2 separate regions of the Homo sapiens genome follow, and region 2 is linked to region 1. The links are contacts of gene promoters, found by promoter capture Hi-C in blood cells and fetal thymus (Javierre and others, 2016). All regions are on one chromosome and are shown on one strand. The core of a region is centred on a gene start or on the middle of the fragment in contact, and the rest is flanking DNA. Distances in the headings are between cores, read along the strand shown. Region 1 holds the start of RNPC3 (RNA binding region (RNP1, RRM) containing 3). Region 2 holds the start of LMO4 (LIM domain only 4).

Region 1 (6,382 bases), core at 1,422-3,921:
TGGCAACTTCTGGGCTAGACAAAGAGGAGGGAATGAGAAAGGTACTTCTCAGATACGACCACACATACCTACACTCAGACACAGAAAAGATTAGAGTGTATTACATATTCCTGCAATCCTTTAGGTCAAGCCTGATATGAGGGGAGTGTAAGAAGAGACACCTTAATGGAGTTTGGACTTGACATCTCTAACCAACTGTACTGATAGCAACTGAAAGTGACTAGAAAATTATGACCTCTACCTGAGATATTGTCAAGGAAAGGATAAGGTAGATTTCATTGAGTACAACTAAAAGCAATTAAGTAGAGAGAAAATAAAATTCTGTCATGTAACTATTCCACTCAGTCATGATACCTGAATTACAGTAGATAATGACCATTAAACTCTGCCTGATAGCCCCTGTAGTAATTCCTAACCGTAGGAGGCAGTGGTAAATATAAAAGTGAATTCCTTCATGCATTCATTCATTGAATAGATATTTACAGAATGTGCACTATGTCTGGAACATTTTACTAAACATAAGAGTCACAGGGAGGATGTGACGGTCATTTTGCATGACACCTGTCACCAACTGATCCCAACAGTTGATTTGGCTGATCTGGCTAACTAGCTGGGTTCCCCTTCCTTCCTAACTGCCCCATATATGTCTCTTCCAAAGCTGCCCACTCGGCTGAGGAGGATGACTTACCCCCATAAAGGAGGATGATTTTTCTGTAAGGGCATACGTGTAGCAGTGCTCCCTTGCTAGAAGCTCCAAACAAGTCTTCAAAGAACACACACAAAAAAGCCGCTGAAGGATAGTGTTTAAAATAGCATGACCACTCCAATCGGTTTATAACACTACCCTATTTTTTCCAAAGCACTTATTATTCTCTGAAAAGAACTTTATTTACATATTTATTCTGTCTTGATTTTAGAAAGTAAGCATTGAGAGGGCAGGAATTGATTGTCTTCTTCTTCTTCCTTGCCTCAACTTCTCAACATCTGCATGTCCCATGACTCCATTATGGGCACAATTCTATCTATACCCTTTGTCATTCTTCAGATATAAATACCATATAGGTTGATGCCATACCTCGTGGTAACCTTTCCCAAGAATGCCAAACACACACATTCAACTTCCTACTTGAAACAGGGATACTGAATAGATACCTTAAACTTAATATATGTTCCTCTATTCCCAATGTCCCACTACAGTTTCTAACCTAGCTATACTTGGTCAATCTTCTCACATTCAGTAAATGGCATCATCATCTACAGATGGATAATATCTAGCTTAAGCCAAAAATCCAGAATTTATCCTTGCTTACTATTCTTCATCTGCAAGTTCCTATCAACTACTTCTAAAACGTATCTCAATTCCAGTTCCTTCTCTACATGTCCACTTTCACCAAACTATTATGGTAGTGTTTTTCTCCAGACTTCTACAGTAGTCCAACTGGTCTTTCTGCTTCTGTTTTTTGCATTGCAACCGGAGAAATTTTCATACCTAAACTTTGATTCTCTCCCCTCAACACACACCTACTTAAAGAATTTGTCAGTTTCTAAATGTTCCTCAAATAAAAAGGGCTCCTAACAAATCTACAGCGTCTACGTGGTCTGGCTCTACCTATCTGATATTTTGGTGGGTGTGTGGGGAAGGTTCTTCTCATGTTTGTCTTCTAGTTTTCATTAATATCTGTCTCTCTCCTTTTCCCCAACCAATGCGGGATGACAGCAGATTGCTGGTATACTGCTTACTGCTGTATCTCTAACATTTATTTAAGTGGCAAAAAGAACTGTAAGAGGAACTCTGGTTCTCCAGACTGTAGCAGCTACATCTAGCATAAAACCTCTCTTTAGAATCCTCAAGGCCCTCTCTGTATGGGGTGAGGGGTACATTCCTGACCCTCCGGGGATGATCCCTGCCTCACTCCATTCAGAATCTAGGCAGAACAGTGGATTAGAATGTAGACCCCCAGTCAGAACACCAAGGGTCAAAACTTAGTTCTTCCACTTTCTAGCTGTGTGATTTAACCTCTTTGTACATCAGTGTCCTCAGCTGTAAAATAGGGAGAAAAGTACCTACACCTACACACACACACACATACACACACACACACACACACACCCCTACACACACACACATACACACACATGCAATAATTTATTTATTAGGTTACCTCTCCCTAGAGGCTGCCATTTCTGCGAAATGAACCCTGGCAGGGGCCTATCCGTCTGCTAAATGCCTACTGATTCAAGAAAAAAGTCTGAACTCTCAACGTTTTGCCCCTTAAACTGAGTTCTCCTCCCTACAATGGTGTCTAATGAGTTGACAGAATAACTGGCTAGCTTTATATTTTACCATCTAAATACTGTAAGAACATACCCGGTATTTCCACACCCAAGTTCTCCTCCTTGCTATTCAGGCCAATTCACTTTCCCAAGGCCAGGGATTAAGAGCCGCACGGTCAGCTCCAGATAGCGCTCGCCGCCGTGCGCCCCGCCCCGCCGTGCGCCCCGCCCCGCCGTGCGCCCCGCCCCGCCGTGCGCCCCGCCCCGCCGTGCGCCCCGCCCCGCCGTGCGCCCCGCCCCGCCGTGCGCCCCGCCCCGCCGTGCGCCCCGCCCCGCCGTGCGCCCCGCCCCGCCGTGCGCCCCGCCCCGCCCTGTGACGGTCCCAGCCCGCACATGCGCAGTCGTGAGTCCTCTTGTCCTTGAGCGTCAACCTTCTTTCCCTGAAGTGGCTGGGGTTCCTGTTTCCTTCTTTGATTGACAACTTGTGTTAACCCTCGCACATCTCTGGGCCAATTTTTGCTTGTAAGTCTTTCCGGAGACCCCTGGAATTTAAATCATTAGCACCGCGCCCTTCCCCGAAGAGTCTTCGAAGGGTTGCCGCTTTTCGGTGGCGCAGTTCTCGCGAGAAGGTGACTTTCTTTCTCGGTATTTCCTGGTTTCCAGAATCCTTAGCGCGAGGCGGAAAAAATATTTCTCCCAGCTTGTGTTGATGCCGCGATTTTGACTGAGACTTCTTCCCACGATTTCTGTTTTTGCTTCTCCAAGGAAAATGGCAGCTCCCGAGCAGCCGCTTGCGATATCAAGGGGATGCACGAGCTCCTCCTCGCTTTCCCCGCCTCGGGGCGACCGAACCCTTCTGGTCAGGCACCTGCCGGCTGAGCTTACTGCTGAGGAGAAAGAGGACTTGCTGAAGTACTTCGGGGCTCAGTCTGTGCGGGTCCTGTCAGATAAGGGGCGACTGGTAAGGGCGCGCCCCTCCGGAGTCTCCCGGGAAGGCATTTGGGAAGTGACCGGGGAGGGGGAGCGCTGACAAGAGTAAAATGGAAACGAGTGGGGAAGATGGACTTGTGTGATGAGAGCTCCCCCATCCTACCTCTTTTTTATCAAAATATCTGCTCTGCGAAGTGGAGTTTTAATCGGCTCGAGTCTGGATTAGTCATAGCACTGCAGAAAAGGGCAAGTGAGAACGACAAAGCAGAAGAATGGAAATTAGCTTAGTTATATTGAGTTTTCGGATCCATCCTGAGAGCCTCACAACTTTTTTGAATTTGGGGTTATTTCTCCTGGACTCAAGAGTATTCTTACAAATGTGCATCAAGGGATTTTTTAAAGTCCTACTTCATTTATAAGCCAATGTTAAATCGTTCATTAAAATAGAGGAGAAGCTACATTGGTGACTTGCGTAAATTAAATGCAGAATTTCAACTAGAAAAAGAGGCTTTTCATAAAAATTTCCCGATGACATCTTTTAGGGAACAATTTTTTAGGGCTGTTAAGAGTACCTGTGTAGGAATTTACACAATTACTTTGTTTTGCTTTATATCCAAAGATATTTTAGATTTCTCTTCATTAAAATAGGAATAGCGATGGTGCAAGACTCAGTGGTTTTAAAGTTTCCCTAGGTGATTTTAATGTTAATGTGCAGCCCAAGTTGAGAGTTACTGAATTAGAAGAAAGACCAATTTTGATCAGTTTAAATGTCACTTATGCCTGCAAATTAAAAAAAAAAAATTATATATGGCTCAATTTAAGTACATCAGGTCATCGTGTATCAGATTAGACAAAATTAGAATGTGCGATATAATTATTAAAGTAACTTTTAATAAGCATTGACCAGAGCTCTTCCTTAGCATAGTGATTCTTTTACTGTTGATTTGTGTTTCTTTTCTGATGGTTTTTAAAATCCGTATAATTTATGTTTAAAAATAGACTTCTCCCATTGAACATTATTACAAAGATAAAGCACAAAGGAAATATGCACCTTGAAGAACGATTTCTCTGTTGGTGAATGTTTTTAAACTACGCATTGTTATGTATAGAGGAAAGTTTAAAATCTTTAGATCTGTCATAAATGAAGGAAATAAATTTTTAGTTGGTTAAAAGTGACCCTCTGTGTAGAACAGGTCTTTAAACTTTTGGTCTTTTGAACTATTTGCATGTGTAAAACGTGTGTCTTTATATGATAGAGGTTGCATAGCTTTCATCTCAAGTCTGACTCAAAAAGTATTGAAAACCACTGGACTGAAATTAGTAATCAGTTAAATGGTCTTGAGTTTTCATCCTTTCCCGTGATTTTATTAACATGTCACATTACTCCACTGGTAAAAAGTCAGATTTCTTTGTGAGAAACTGAAATTATATTGGAAGTAATTTGTACCTTAACTCTGTTTCAGAAACATACAGCTTTTGCCACATTCCCTAATGAAAAAGCAGCTATAAAGGTATGACTTTTTCTTGACGATTAAAGTTGTCAACAGGATCCTCTTATACAATCTTGGTTCAGATAATGTTTAACTGTGGTTTTTAAGAAGCAAAAGCGTTTGTATTCCAACAGTTTCCCCAACAGACTACATTTGATTTGTCAGTTGGCAGATCTTGCCCAGTCCTTTAGTAGATTATCTATAAAGAAAAACTAACTGCGTATGTAATTAAAATAACAATTTCTAAATGATTTAGATTGATAAATATCTCTGTGACTGTTACAAGGTAAGATGTTTCAAGTGTTAAAAGGAGAATATACATTTCTTTATAATGCCAGGGAATCATTCACAGGAGGTGATCTTTTAGCTAGAAGTCTAATGATTAATTGGATTTTTTCAGAAGGAAACAAGTGGAGATGGGCCTTCTGGGCTTGCAGAACACCAAATAAAGCTGTGAGACATTGGAAGTTATAAGTGGAGCAGGAGCTAAGGGTTGAGATGGAAATGGAACTTGAAAAATAGATTTGAGTCTGGGAGAGAGGTATTGAGTTTGGTTTAGTAGGTGGACACTTGATACTTTTGAGCTGGCTCATAATATGATCAGGCCTGTTAAAGATATCTGGTATAGTTCATATCATGGATTGGATGTGCAGAATTATTAGAGGTAGGAGACCAAATGGAAGGCTGTTATAATGGCCAAGGCAAGAATAACTATCTGAAGAAGACAGTAAGAAGACAAAGGGGGAAGTAAATATATATTCAATAGAGATTGAGTTTGTAGGTTTTATAATATAGGGGTTGAGAGAGAATAGTTCAGGATATTTAGATTGAGGATTGAGTTATTTGGGTTGTTATATTAGCTGACATGAGGATCCAGAGGATGTTTGCAAAGGCATAGGATGAATTCACTTGTCATCTGTTAACTTGGAGGGGTCATTGGGCTACTTTTATGGAAATATTTAAAAATATTAATGAGAGCTGAGGCAAGGTGAAGAATGGAAAGATTCTTCAACCATGTGAATAGATATGTTTGCCCAAAGGATAATAAGCTAGGAGAGAAGAATGGGAAGGAGCAGTTAAAGTAGGAGAACTAGAAAGGAAATTATCACTGATGCAAAGAGAAGTGTGTTTTAAGAAGATGAAATCCTGTGATGATGCAAAATGAGGAATGAACACATCTATTAAAGTCTTTTTGCCATGAAACAATAGAAATGACCCAAATTCTCATCGGTAAAAGGAAGGGAAGCCTTAAATCACATTATATCCATATACTGGACTGCAACTGTCTGAGAATGATGTCAAATGGTATGTGTTAATATGGAATGATAGCCCAGATAGAGTACATGAATAAAGTTGTGAAACATTATATATGATGTAACCTCAGATTTTTTGAAACTAATAGTATACATGTTAGCATATACACAGAAAAAATATGGCAGAACTATACACCAAAATGTTAAAAACATCTTTCTCTGAGAGTAGGATTACAGAGGGCTTTCATATTATATTAATATGTACTTTTATAATGGTAGGTAATTTTTTTTCAGAAAAAAAGTATTTTTAAAAATATATCATAATACATTGTAAATAAAGTATGGTAATGAAAAACGCATTGTTTTAGGGTCAAGAATAACTTGGAGGAGAGGACATGGAGCCAGTCATTGTCTTTGGAAATGTCTGTAGTGAAA
Region 2 (6,382 bases), core at 1,386-3,885, about 16 Mb before region 1:
TCGCTTTTGTATTTCTATAAACACACATCAGCAAATAAAGCTCTCTGGTAATACACTCCCATCCACTCCAATCTACCAGGACATGTTTAAAGACCTCACTCCGCACAGAATTAGAGCTGAAGCACTAAAACCACCTCCTAAAATGTAGGCCCTGTAGCCTAGAGCTCTGTTATTCAAAGTTTTATCCATCTCACTCTCCTTCCTTCCACAAACACCACCGGGATCCTCTGGATAATCACTCAATGATAGCTGAACATGTGTCTGGTTAAATTTCTAACATTTCCTTCAGGAATTAAGATTTCGTTTTAGTGCATATTCTTCAGGAAAAATCCTGAAAAGTACCACAATTCGTTATACATCTATGCATTATGTGCTCTATCTAAGAAAATCATTTTTAAAAAGAAAAAATAAAGACCATTTGGCTTAATTCTCTCATTTGTGGATGAGAAAATTAAGGCCCAGAGACGGAAATTTACTTGCACATGACAAATCATAACTTAATTGTAGCCCACTAAGATCTTGTGTCATCTCCTTTTATTATAAATTATTTAAAAAGTGAAAATGAACCAGGGGATTCAAATGTATTATTTGTTTATGGTGTTCCTCTCCTCATCTGGTTTAATTGAGTTTTCTTGACTAACCTTCAAGCAGCATTACATCTTTTCTAAGTTGGTCCTCTTTAATCATGCCCATCTGTAGCTGTTTTCTGTGTAGGACATTTTAATTACTATTATAGTTTTAATGACTTTTTTTTAAAAAAAGTTTTTTATATGTGCACAAGGTGAATTCATCATAGCAGTGCAACTTTAAATACAAATCAATAAAATTAATTCATTTAATTTTAAGGTGCTAGAATTAAAAAATGAGTATTTGAATTGATATTTAAAATGCCCTCTACCTGACTGTATGGGCAATAATTATTCTTTCTTATGCAGCCTTATTAATTTTGATGGTTTGAAAGACAGAAATCCCCCAAATAGACACTAAAACCCTAAATGTTCAACATCTGCATTGTCTCGCCAGATTCTCCTTCAGGTTCCTTTCCTCAATCTAGCAGTACTGTGTGTAACACAATATGAAAACTTGCCCCACAAGGCTGGTTTTACTTAATGATACTTAGCAGAAGGGCTTTGCACTTTCATGATAATTTCCACCAGAAAAATCTCTCTGGAACTTACTAACAATAATCAGGCCTAATATTAGCCTCAGTCTGGAGATTTATTTAACCTATTTGGCAGAGTAGATAAAGTCGAATGCCTAGGTATTCAAGCATCTAGGCTGTGCTTCGGCCTTGGAAAAAGACTCTCAGGCTAGCACCCTAAAAGCATTCCTCAAAACTTGATTTATACTAGAAGTGACATTTCTTACTCTCTAGAGGCTGTGAGATTGCAAATCTTGCAATTACTTCCATTGCTTTTGGGGGCTGTGAGAATTTCCGCCTCTCATCCTCCACAGTGAGGAGGGTAGTCGGGAAAGGCTTTCTCCCTTAAGTTTTCGTCAACTTTGAAAATAAGGACTGTGCTCCCTACATCACCAGCAATTGACAAGGATCCAGGAAATGCCTGCTAGGCACTTTCAAACTCGGAAAAATGGGAGTATGAGGGAGGCTAAGTAGGCAGTATTTAGCTAGCAACTATTATTTCCTTTATGTTTCTACCTTGTTAACTAAGCTTCCACTACGGTTCATAAATCTCCAATATCGTGAATTAAAGAAACAACAACAAAAATCCTCTTCTGTGTGCTTGTGCGTGAGGGGATAGAAGTCCACTGCCCTAAGATGCAGGACTTATCTTCCCAAACAGGAAGAGACCCATTTCTGAGAAAGATGGTAAGTTTCCTAAGGGTCTCCTCTCAGATAGAGGGGATGGCAGTCCCCGAGGGGCGAGCGGGCGCGGGTCCTCAGGGTCCCCGTGCGCTGAGAAGGCAGGTGAGGCCCCGCCCTGCGTCTCGACTCCGGATCCCGGGTCGCGAAGGGCAGCCCAAGCGGGTCCCCGGCCCCAGGCGCCCGGGTCACTTCACCCCACCTGATTCGGGCCCTTCCCTTCTCCTCTGTCGGCCAGCTCTGCCGCCTCGCTCTCTCTCCCGCCCCCCGAGTCTCGTTTCAGTCATCCCTTTGTCCTTCCCCGGATTGGCAGGTTTTATTATTCCGCCTGAACAATCCGGCCGCCCAGTGGCTGAGGGTCGCTGACGTCGGAGGCAGAGCCGGGGAGTAGTTGGGATTTTGCTCTGTCAGTAACACATGTGTAAGAGCCGCGGAGGGAGCGAGCGAGCCGGCTAGAGGCCAGCGCCGCCGCCGCCGCCGCCTCCGAGCCGGGCAGCAACAGCCCCGGCAGCGGCGCAGGCTCCAGCGCGCCGGGCCCGGCCGGCCGCAGCCCCCGACGCCTGGGTGCGCCTGCCTGCCGGCCTCCGCACCGTCCGCCGCCGCTCCCGGGGCTGTTGTGTCTGCGACTGCTCCCGGCCGGAGGTGCAGGGAGCTCAGCCGAGCCGCCGCTGCCATCCCGGAGCGAGCAAGCGAGCGAGCGCGCGGGAGGGAGGAAGGCGGCGGCGGAGGAGGAGGAGGAGCGGGAGGAGCGCGGGCGGGGGCGGGGGCCCCCGGGCGGGGGAATATACAAAGTGAAGCCACATTGCCAAACTTGCAGCAGCGATTGCAGCAGTTGCTGCCGCTGCGCCGCGCCTGAAGCCGCGCCGCGCGGGCCGAGGGCTCCTGCAGCTGCTCGCGCGCAGTCGGAGGCGGAGAAGGACGAAGACTGAGACTGACACTTCTGCTCCCGGCCGCCCGGCACTTACGCGGGGGCCCCCCAACCCGCCCCAGAGCAACGCGATTTAAAAAAAAAAAAAAAGCCGCCCTTAGCCCCCTCCTCCCCTTTCCTGCTTCTGCGAGAACTCCCTCCCTCCCTCCAGCTCCGCCAGCCCAGGCGCCCCTTCCCTGGAAGCCGAGCGGCTTCGCTCGCATTTCACCGCCGCCGCCTCTCGCAATATTGCAATATAGGGGAAAAGCAGGTAAGGGGGCGGGTGGAGAGCCGCGGGCCGGGAGGTGGGAGAGGGAGGGAGGGGGTCGATTCGGGCCAGGGCTGTTTTCTTTGGCTTCCTTCCCCTGACCGTCCCAAATTGCAAGTAAACAATACGTCGGCTTAGATAAAGCGCGAGTCTGAAACTACCGAGGCCGGCCTGCGAGCTAGCGCGGAGGGCAGCCCCGGGCCGCCAGCTTTGTAGCGGTTCCTGCTTACAAAAGGGCTCTTCTTGGAAACGGGGCTGGTGGGGACCGTAGAGGGGGTGGGGATATTTCTAGTTCATAAGGGAAAGGCAAGGGGTGCTTAGATGAGGATTTTAAGTATGAGAAGTAGTGTGTTTGGGGGGGTGGGGGTGGGGATAGTCACGATACCCCCCCTCCCTTCTAGTAAACACTATTTTTGAAACAGTGGCAGGAAGGATCTAAGTGAGCAGGATTCGGTATTGCTGGTTCTTTTAAAAAAATTCTTCTTGGCTTATAAGTCTTTTGTTCCAATCCAGGAGAAATACGGTGAATCACCTAATTAAAATCAAGACATGAATTAAGCATCCATTTTTGTACTACAAATTGCCAGCGTTACGTTTGTCCCTCCCTTGGTCTCCATTAAAAAACACCAGAGACGTTGTTAAAGGGGGGCAGATTTTGCCTCTAGCTGCCAGTTCTGCTTTCTATTTCACTGACTATCCCAGGACCTAAATTGCTTGGCTATGTAATTACTAGAGTATAAGCCTATTTAACTTAAAAGCTTTCTTTTTTTTTTTTTTTTTTCCAACTCTAAATGAAACTTGATGAGGGCCCGTCCTTAGTTATCAGGGGAGTCAGTTTCTGGTCAGTCTTCTTGATTCATCTCTTTTAGATTTAATCAGCATTAAGGTATTGCTTGTCCTTAAGAGCTTTAGCTAATGGGGTTACTGGATGCTTTTCTCAGTGTAATGTTTCCTTTTCAAAAAAAAAATACATATATATTTACCTCTCACTAAAGATGGGGGCGGGGAAGAGCTTGGAATCTCCTCCCTCACTCTCCTTTTAAAAAGGAATTCGGAGCGATTAAAACGTTGGGGGAAACAGTTTAAAGATCTAGGGCAGGAAATGCAGATTCATTTGGGTTAGGGCTGAAATTGTAACAAAAAGCAATTCCTCGAGTAAATGCATCAGATAAATCAATTTACATAAAGGTATGATGCATTCGGATAAATGCAATGCTAATGGGTTTTAGAGTGGTCCTGTTTCCAAAGTCTCAGGGTTTTGTTACAGCTTAATTGGTGCAGTTCTTATTCTGGTTTATTGTGCGGTCACTGGACACACGTTCCGGGACTCTTTCGGAGGAAATGTGTTTAAAATCGGCCTATTTAAGGAACCCGAGTCCTTGTTTCGTTCCTTCCTCGTTTTTTTTGCAGCAGCCAAGTTGGGCCGGGTACAGGCAAAGTTCGCCTTCTTCTGAGGTATCAGCTGAATGTCTTGAGCAGATAGCCGGGAGCCTCAGGGGGAGCCCACACTCTCAGCTTACAGAGGACAAAGACAATACAGGCTGCTTAATTGGCAGTAAATAACTTGATCTTTTTACAGAATAAGTGACTAGAGGAACACTAGGACTTTATTGGACTCGGGATTGAAGGCAACAAATTAATCGGTTTAGGCTAAGCTTTATAAATTGATTCCTATATTATATCCCAGTTGCATCTCTTGTGGCATTCATTAGAGTGGGGAATTCTTTTTTAAAGCAGTTTTTGGTGACAGCAGGACGGGCTCGAATTTAACTTGTGCATCCCTTAATGGTGCCTTCTCGCACATTATCTGTAACGCCGCCCGCCCCCCCCCCCCCCCCGCCCTTTGGAGGAACAAAGCTTTAGCATTTAAATTGCTGATCAAGGGCAGATTAGTGAGACCAAAGTGGAGAGTGTTTGTATAGGAAGTTAACAGGCATCCTAAAGTTCAATGATCTATTATTCTTGCCTGTGTCCTGAAAACCCAGAGAAAACACTCATTGATCTTCAAAATGAAATGAGATTTGGAACAATAATGGGAGATGGCGGTCACCACAATGGCATGTGAAAGGTGCTGCTTAAAATACGAAAAACCAGTTTCGCAACTTTACACACTGCACCCACCCCTCCCGTCACCTTGCCTTCCCTCCCATCACCACGCTCTCCGTCTCCCGTCTGCCGGTCCCTCCCTCGTTCCCTTTCGGAAAACCGAACTATTTCCAACTTGTGAACTGCAGCTGCACTTCCCGGGGCAGAACCCGGGAGGGAACGAGGCTCCGGCGGGGCCGCCGCCTCCCCACTCCTCTCGGCTCTGTCCCGGGGCCCGGCGGGGGCTGGGGAGGGGCCGGGCGCGGCGGTGGGTGGGTTTGACCCTCATTTGCTGGAGGCGGGCGGCGGAGGAGGGGAGGAGGGGGCAGTGGGCGGAGGCGGGGGCTGGGAGGAGGTGCCGCGAGGGGTGGAGCGCGCAGCGGAGCCTGCTCTCGGAGTTTTGACAGTACCGGAGCTGAAATTGTCAGCGGCGGCAAGCGCAGGAAAGTTGAGAGGAGCTCGTGGCCCCAGAACAAAGCTTGAGAAAAGTAAACAGGCGGCTGCTGCCGGCGAGCCTCCCTTCTTCCCTCTCCCCCTCAGCCTCCTTCCCGCCCTTGCCCTGCTGTTTCCTTCCAGCAGCTCCGCGGGGAGGAGGGGAATGGGCTTGCTCTCTCTCCGGCGATTACTAACTTTTGCATCGCCCCTGTTTTGTCTTTCTCTCCCTGTCCCCTTCCCGCCCTCTGCAGACCATGGTGAATCCGGGCAGCAGCTCGCAGCCGCCCCCGGTGACGGCCGGCTCCCTCTCCTGGAAGCGGTGCGCAGGCTGCGGGGGCAAGATTGCGGACCGCTTTCTGCTCTATGCCATGGACAGCTATTGGCACAGCCGGTGCCTCAAGTGCTCCTGCTGCCAGGCGCAGCTGGGCGACATCGGCACGTCCTGTTACACCAAAAGTGGCATGATCCTTTGCAGAAATGACTACATTAGGTAAGACTTTGCTGTCTTTCCTGGAGATGGGGGGAAGAGCAATGGCAAGGCCAAAGGTTAACAGGGTTGTGAGGAAAGGAGTAGGCGTCTACGGGGAGTATGCAGCCTTCACCTCAAAAATCTTCTAGTTGGCGGAATTTAAGGGGTTCAGGAAGCATGTGTTAGTCTTCCAATATCTGATGGCAAATTCATGGCAAATGCCATACTAAGTAAAGACCATCTGGTGGGACTGGGTCATTAGATGTGCAAAGGTTGAGCACCCTCTGGTCCTAGAGTTTAAGTAAGTGGTCAGCCTCTACTGGACTTCAGGCTAAAAGCAAACATCCCAAGCGGGAGTTAAGCTGCGTTCTTAAAACAAGGTAGGAACTCACAGAG

The links. Contacts are between HindIII fragments. The CHiCAGO score rates a contact against its expected background, and 5 or more counts as called.
Region 2: the fragment with the promoter of LMO4 here is called in contact with the fragment with the promoter of RNPC3 in region 1 in 1 of 17 cell types (total CD4 T cells); the score reaches 12.0 in total CD4 T cells.

The regions. Positions count from the first base shown.
Region 1 is chr1:103,523,028-103,529,409 of GRCh38, forward strand. RNPC3 (RNA binding region (RNP1, RRM) containing 3) reads left to right here and starts at 2,672. Exons shown (of 15, transcript NM_017619.4): 1 at 2,672-3,235; 2 at 4,668-4,715. The coding sequence starts at 3,044. It overlaps RNPC3-DT (RNPC3 divergent transcript), which reads right to left and starts at 2,481. Exons shown (of 4, transcript NR_168321.1): 1 at 2,369-2,481. It also overlaps the pseudogene RN7SKP285. RefSeq lists a silencer at 2,464-2,563 and an enhancer at 2,884-3,123. The HindIII fragment of the contact is 7,657 bases long and covers 1-6,382 here.
Region 2 is chr1:87,326,245-87,332,626 of GRCh38, forward strand. LMO4 (LIM domain only 4) reads left to right here and starts at 2,636. Exons shown (of 5, transcript NM_006769.4): 1 at 2,636-3,000; 2 at 5,769-6,007. The coding sequence starts at 5,772. RefSeq lists silencers at 1,838-2,007, 2,258-2,687, 3,611-3,700, 5,067-5,426 and enhancers at 2,546-3,123, 3,124-3,699, 3,265-4,810, 4,480-5,118, 5,119-5,757 and 1 more. The HindIII fragment of the contact is 2,085 bases long and covers 1,669-3,753 here.